Regions from separate parts of the Homo sapiens genome. Here region 1 is linked to region 2. Evidence: promoter capture Hi-C in 16 types of primary human blood cells and fetal thymus (Javierre and others, 2016). All regions are on one chromosome and are shown on one strand. Each heading gives the region's core, a stretch centred on a gene start or on the middle of the fragment in contact. The rest is flanking DNA. Distances are from core to core; before and after follow the strand shown. Region 1 overlaps SHANK1 (SH3 and multiple ankyrin repeat domains 1). Region 2 holds the start of GPR32 (G protein-coupled receptor 32).

Region 1 (3,114 bases), core at 425-2,924, 72 kb after region 2:
CCAATCCTCCAATGCCCCGAGCCTTCCAACCCTCCAATGCCCCGATCCCTCCAATCCTCCAATGCCCCGAGCCCTCCAATCCTCCAATGCCCCGAGCCCTCCAATCCTCCAATGCCCCGAGCCCTCCAATCCTCCAATGCCCCGAGCCCTCCAATCCTCCAATGCCCCGAGCCCTCCAATCCTCCAATGCCCCAAACCCTCTAATCCTCTAATGCCCCAATCCCTCCAATCTCCCAAAGCCCCAAGCCCTCCATTCCCCCAATGGCCCAAGCCATCCAATCCTCCCAGTGCCCAAGCCTTCCAGTTCCCCAGTGCTACCAACCCCTCCATTCCTCCAATGCCCCAAGCCTTCCAATCCCCCAATGCCCTGAGCCCTCCAATTCTCCAGTCCTCCGATATACCAACCCCTCCATTCCTCCAATGTCCCAAGCTTTCTTGTACACCAAACTCTTCAAACATGCTGGTCCTTCTGCCTGGAACTCTTCCATGCTCTCTTTGCCTCCCCAGCTCCTAGGATCCTTCAGGTCTCAACCTATGTGTCACACCTCAGGGACACCTCCCTGGACCCCTTTGCCATTATAAGTTATATACTCCCATCTGGCTTCTCTCCAAACACCCTCTTATTTTCCCTTGAGCTCTGACCCCAACTTCCAATCATACAGTCACTTGTATAGTTATGCCTCTATTGGCCACTGCTCTGGAAGCTCCTCAAAGGAAGGAACAACATTGATTATATTCAACAGTGTCTACCCTGGTACCTGACTCATGACTGGCACTAACTAAATATTTTTACAGTGAACAAATGATTGATTACAAGACCACCAAGCCAGGCATGGCAGTACCAGCCAAGAACCCAGTCCCCTTGACAACCCATCTCCTGCTCTCTTCCATGACTTTCAGCTTCCCCTCATTTGGTCTCCCCAGATGCTCTCAAGGGAGGCAGTTTGTGGAGGGGAATACATCTGATGGCCCCAACTCAACCCCTAGCATAGCTGGAGCCATCTCCAGGCAAGGGTTTTCTCCACATTCGCTTCAGCTTCTTTGTCTATAAAATGGAAAAACAGTTGTTACCTACCTGGGTAGGCACAAGGGTTGAACGAGGAAGGAAACTATGTGAAGGGCTGAATGGGGGCAGAGTCATGAAAAATGCCGGAGAAATGGAAGACCATGTGTTTGCCACTGGTGCCCTTGTCATGCACTGAAGCCGTTGCATGGAGAGGTAGCGCACATGAGTGACTGAAAGTATGCCCTCTGGAAGCAGACTGAGCTGTGTTCAAATCCAGATCTGTCAGTTACTAGCCTTGTAACCTTCAGCAAATGATCTTGGCTCTCCAAGCCTCAGTGTTCCTATCAGTAAAAGGGGGATAATGAAAGTGGCCCCTCTTAGGGTTCTGGCCCAGGTGAGAGTTGGATACGCATTAGCTGTTCTTGTCATATATCTCTGTTTTTCAGCAGCAGGCATGTAACAGGCAGTCTGTGATGTTTGCTAAATGGGGAAGCGGTGGGGCCTGGGAGGGTGGGCAGGGGGAAGCCGCTTCCATTAGGGGAGAGGGAGAGAAGGAAAGAGGTGATGCTAATCTCTTTTCCCTTCTAGAGCCAGGAGAGGCCGAGAGAGACAGAGACAGGGGTCTGGGGACAAAGGACTAAAGATTAAGTGGCAAGGAGACTTTGGGAGGTGGCAGGGACAGTGATGGGAGGGTGAGGTAGAACTTGTCGCCCCATCCGTGATCTAAGTCCACAGAGCCTAGGAGGGTGAAGGGGAATTACACAACTGAGCTGTGACCAGTTACCAGGGGAGACAAGGACCAATTGTGGACCTGCCTCTAACCTAGGAAGACCATGTTATGGAACAGTCGTCTTCCCCAATGCCTGTCATCCTTATTGGATCCAGAAACTAGAATGCAAGAGTGATATGATATGGGTCTCCCCCAAGCTCCTCGCCCCTTCCTCAGATGTTTATTAAGGATGGCCTTGGGCCAGGAGCTGGTAACTGTGGGAATGCTCTAAGTTGAGTGTGTTGGCAGTTGAGGGGCAGCACAGAAACACAGAAATGTCTCTATGTCCCCGTTCCCCATCCAGTACTTAGCATCGGGGAAGGAGGCTTCTGGGAAGGCCAGGTCAAAGGTCGTGTTGGCTGGTTCCCCTCTGACTGCCTGGAAGAAGTGGCGAATCGCTCTCAGGAGAGCAAGCAAGGTAATGCGGAACCCCCAGCAGTGTTCAATGGACCCTAGGATTCCCACGTCCACTCCTTTCCCTTCCTAATGGGGGTGGGGTACTGGGAGGTAGATGGGAAGACTTGGGCCAGGAGCTCTAGGGCTGGGATTGTGGTTTCCAAAACAAGAGTCCAAGGTTGTCTGTTGTCACCCTGCAGAAAGCCGCAGTGACAAGGCAAAGAGACTCTTCCGGCATTATACCGTGGGCTCCTACGACAGCTTTGATGCCCCAAGGTAAATGTCCTTACACCCTCGGGCAACCCCCCTCACCCCAAGTTCCCTTCACAATGTACACCTTTAAATATTTCCATCACCTCTAAGCCCCCTTTCTAATCTGTTCCTTCTCAAGTTTGATCCAGGGGTGGGATAAGCCAGAATTAGCTTCAGACAGTACAGCCCAACCCCAAACCATCTTCGGCAGCCACTAAGACTGCCCAGCTCTGGGGTAGCCAGAGACAACGGGGTGGTCAGGGCAGGGTGGGGATGCCTGGGGGGGCCGGGGCGCTCTTATGTCTGGCTGGCTGGAGGCCCTTGTCTCCTTCATGTGCCCCATCTCTGTGCAGTCATGTGCAGTGGGAATGTGTGTGTCCCATGCACCGGTGTGGGGAGGGTGCAGTCAGGGCTGGGTGGGATTGGGGTGAGGAGATGGGTGCACTGACACCTTTCCCCTCCCTGGCTGCTGGCTGACTTGCTTCGGAAGCTTAATGGATGGGATTGGCCCAGGGAGGTGAGAGGCGAGGGGCAGGGAGGGGATGGGGTCAGGAGGGGAAGGACGGGGTGCCTGGGGGGCGTGTGAACGTGTGTGCACGACCAGAGCTGAGGTTTCTTGGTGTGTGAACGTGTGTCTCTGTAGGTGTGCATGACACGCATCTGTGTGCATGTGTGGCCTGGATGTACCTGT
Region 2 (2,892 bases), core at 1-2,500:
AACTAAGAAGGACGGCTTCCAGCTTCCAGCTGAAGTCTTCCATCATTCCCGGGGGGCGTTGCCACGGGGACAGGATGACAGAAACTCCTCCTCTCCAAACGCCCTCGCCAGGGCAGAAGTCAAAGACTGGAAAAACTTTTCTTGGAAATCTCTGCCAACGAAGACGTAGAGGAAGGGGTTGAGGCTGCTGTTGACACAGCCCAAGGCAAAGCTAGCCTGGAGGATGAGCAGCATCCGGGGGTGGTAGATTTCCTTGAGCATCACCCGTCGCCACAGATGGACCAACAGCACCACGTTAAACGGGGACCAGAAGATAAAGAAAGCGCTCACCAGCACCAGCAGCAGCCTCTTGGGCCGGTTGGCATGGACCCAGCCCTCCCGCAAGAGCTTGGCCCGGATGAGGTGGGCGCAGGTGCCTATGATTGCTAAGGGCCCCAGGAAGCCCAGCAGGAAGTGGCCAATGGTCCCTATAATGTGTCCCTCCACGACCCCTTCAATCCAAATCTGGGCAGTCTCATTGTCAGAGTTGAACGCCAAGTAGCAGTGCGTACAGCCATTCCATTTTCTGGTTGTCCGGAATTTCAGGTGCGCAGAGCACAAGGCGGCGGCCAGGAGCCACACCCCAAAGGCCAGCCAGCTCGCCCGCTGCACAGTGCGGTGGTTCAGGGCCCAGACGGGGTAGAGGACAGAGATGCAACGGTCCACAGAGATGAAGACAAGGAGGCAGTTACTGGCAAAGTAGCTGAGGAACACAAAGGTGATGTAGAGTTTGCAGGCCCACTCTCCGAGGAGCCACTGCCTGGAGACAATATAGTACATGGCAATGGGCAGAGACAGTGAGAGCATGAAATCGGCAAGGGCCAGGTGGAAGAAGCAGACGGTGGAGACCGTGCGTGCCATACGGAAGACAGTCATCCACAGCACCAGCCCATTGCCCAGCACTCCGACGACAATGGACGCAGACAGGATAACCACAGTCAGTGGGCGGAGGGACCCCACCTCCTCAGACAGGCATCCGGAAGAGTTCATCTTCCTGGAACAAGAGCGATCACGTGTCAGGACCCCAGGTTGCCTGTCACTGCAGCCTCTGGTCCCCTCCGAGACCCCATTCATGATTTCTCCATTCCATAATTTTTATGGAATGCTTATTATTATTATTCTTTTAGAGACAGCGTCATGCTCTGTCACCCAGGCTGGAGTGCAAAGGTACAATCACAGATCACTGCAGCCTCCACCTCCTAGGCTCAAGAGATCCTCCCCCCTCAGCCTCCTGGAGTAGCTGGGACTACAGGCACTTACCACCATGCCTGGCTAATTTTTTTACCTTTTTTTTTTTTTTTTTTTTTTGACACAGAGTCTTGCTCTCTCTGTCACCCAGGCTGTAGTGCAATGGTATGATCTCGGCTCACTGCAACCTCCACCTCCAAGGTTCAAGCAATTTTCCTGCCTCAGCCTCCCAAGTAGCTGGAACTACAGGCACATGCCACCACACCTGGCTAATTTTTCTGTTTTTAGTAGAGACAGGGTTTTACCATGTTGGCCAGGCTGGTCTTGAACTACTGACCTCGTGACCCGTCCACCAGCCTCCCAAAGTGCTGGGATTATAGGTGTGAGCCACTCTGCCAGGCCTTAAATTCTTTTTTGTAGAGATGGGGTTTTGCTGTGTTGCCCAGGCTGGTCTTGAACTCCTGGCTTCAAGTGATCCTCCCACCTCAGCCTCCCAAAGTGCTGGGATTACAAGTGTGAGCCATTGAGCCCAGCCTGAATGCTTTTTATGACACAATAATATTGTTCTTTTTTTTTTTTTTTTTTTGAGACAGAGTCTCCTTATGTCACCCAGGCTGCAGTGCAATGGCACGATCTCGGCTCACTGGACACTATAATATTGTTCTAAGTACTGGACATAACTCGTGTAACAAAACAAGCCCTCATGGAACTTACATCCCAGTGAGAGATGTCAGGTGTAATACATATAATAAATTTACTTCATGATATACTGCTTTAGAAGACTACAAGTGTTATGGAAAAATAATAAATGAAATGGAGGGGCCAGGTGTGGTGGCTCATGCTTGTAATCACAACACTTTGGGAGGCTGAGGCAGAAGGATTGCTTGAAGCCAGGAGTTCCAAACCAAGGTGGGCAACATAGTGAGACCGTCTCTACAAAAAATAAATAATTACAAGTTTTTGTGGCCATGCACAGTGGCTCACGCCTGTAATCCCAGCACTTTGGGAGGCTGAGGTAGGCGGATCACCTGAGGTCAGGAGTTCGAGATCAGCCTGCCCAGCATGGCGAAACCCCGTCTCTACTAAAAATACAAAAAACATTAGCTGGGTGTGGTGGCAGCCACCTGTAATCCCAGCTACTCATGAGGCTGAAGAATCACTTAAACTTGGGAGGCGGAGGTTGCAGTGAATCAAGATCGCGCCACTGCACTCCAGCCTGGGTAACGAGAGCGAAACTCCGTCTCAAAAAAATAAAAATAAAATAAAATTTAAAAATTAGCCGTGAGATGGGCGTAGTGGCTCATTCCTGTAATCCCAGCACTTTGGGAGGCTGAGGCTGGTGGATCACTTAAGTTCAGGAGTTCGAGACCAGCCTGGCCAACATGGCAAAAGCCTGTCTCTACTAAAAATACAAAAATTAGCCAGGCTTGGTGGTGCGTGCCTGTAATCCCAGCTACTCTGAAGGCTGAGGCAGGAGAGTCCCTTGAACCTGGGAGGCAGGGGCTGCAGTGAGCCAAGATCGTGCCACTTCATTCCAGCCCAGGCAACAGAGCAAGACTCTGTCTCAAAAAAAAAAAAAAAAAAAATTAGTCAGGTATGGTGGCACGTGCCTGTAGTCCCAGCAAATTGGGAGACTGAGACACGAGGGTCACTTGAGCCCTGGAA

The links. Contacts are between HindIII fragments. The CHiCAGO score rates a contact against its expected background, and 5 or more counts as called.
Region 1: a fragment that was not itself captured here is called in contact with the fragment with the promoter of GPR32 in region 2 in 4 of 17 cell types (megakaryocytes, endothelial precursors, erythroblasts and 1 more); the score reaches 7.9 in megakaryocytes.

The regions. Positions count from the first base shown.
Region 1 is chr19:50,696,922-50,700,035 of GRCh38, reverse strand. SHANK1 (SH3 and multiple ankyrin repeat domains 1) reads left to right here. Exons shown (of 24, transcript NM_016148.5): 13 at 2,080-2,193; 14 at 2,372-2,447; 15 at 2,914-2,940. Among named protein-coding and RNA genes, the nearest start is that of SHANK1, 21 kb to the left of the region's middle. The HindIII fragment of the contact is 2,483 bases long and covers 433-2,915 here.
Region 2 is chr19:50,768,822-50,771,713 of GRCh38, reverse strand. It overlaps GPR32 (G protein-coupled receptor 32), which reads right to left and starts at 1,250. Exons shown (of 1, transcript NM_001506.2): 1 at 1-1,250. The coding sequence starts at 1,113. The coding sequence ends at 43. The HindIII fragment of the contact is 17,473 bases long and covers 1-2,892 here.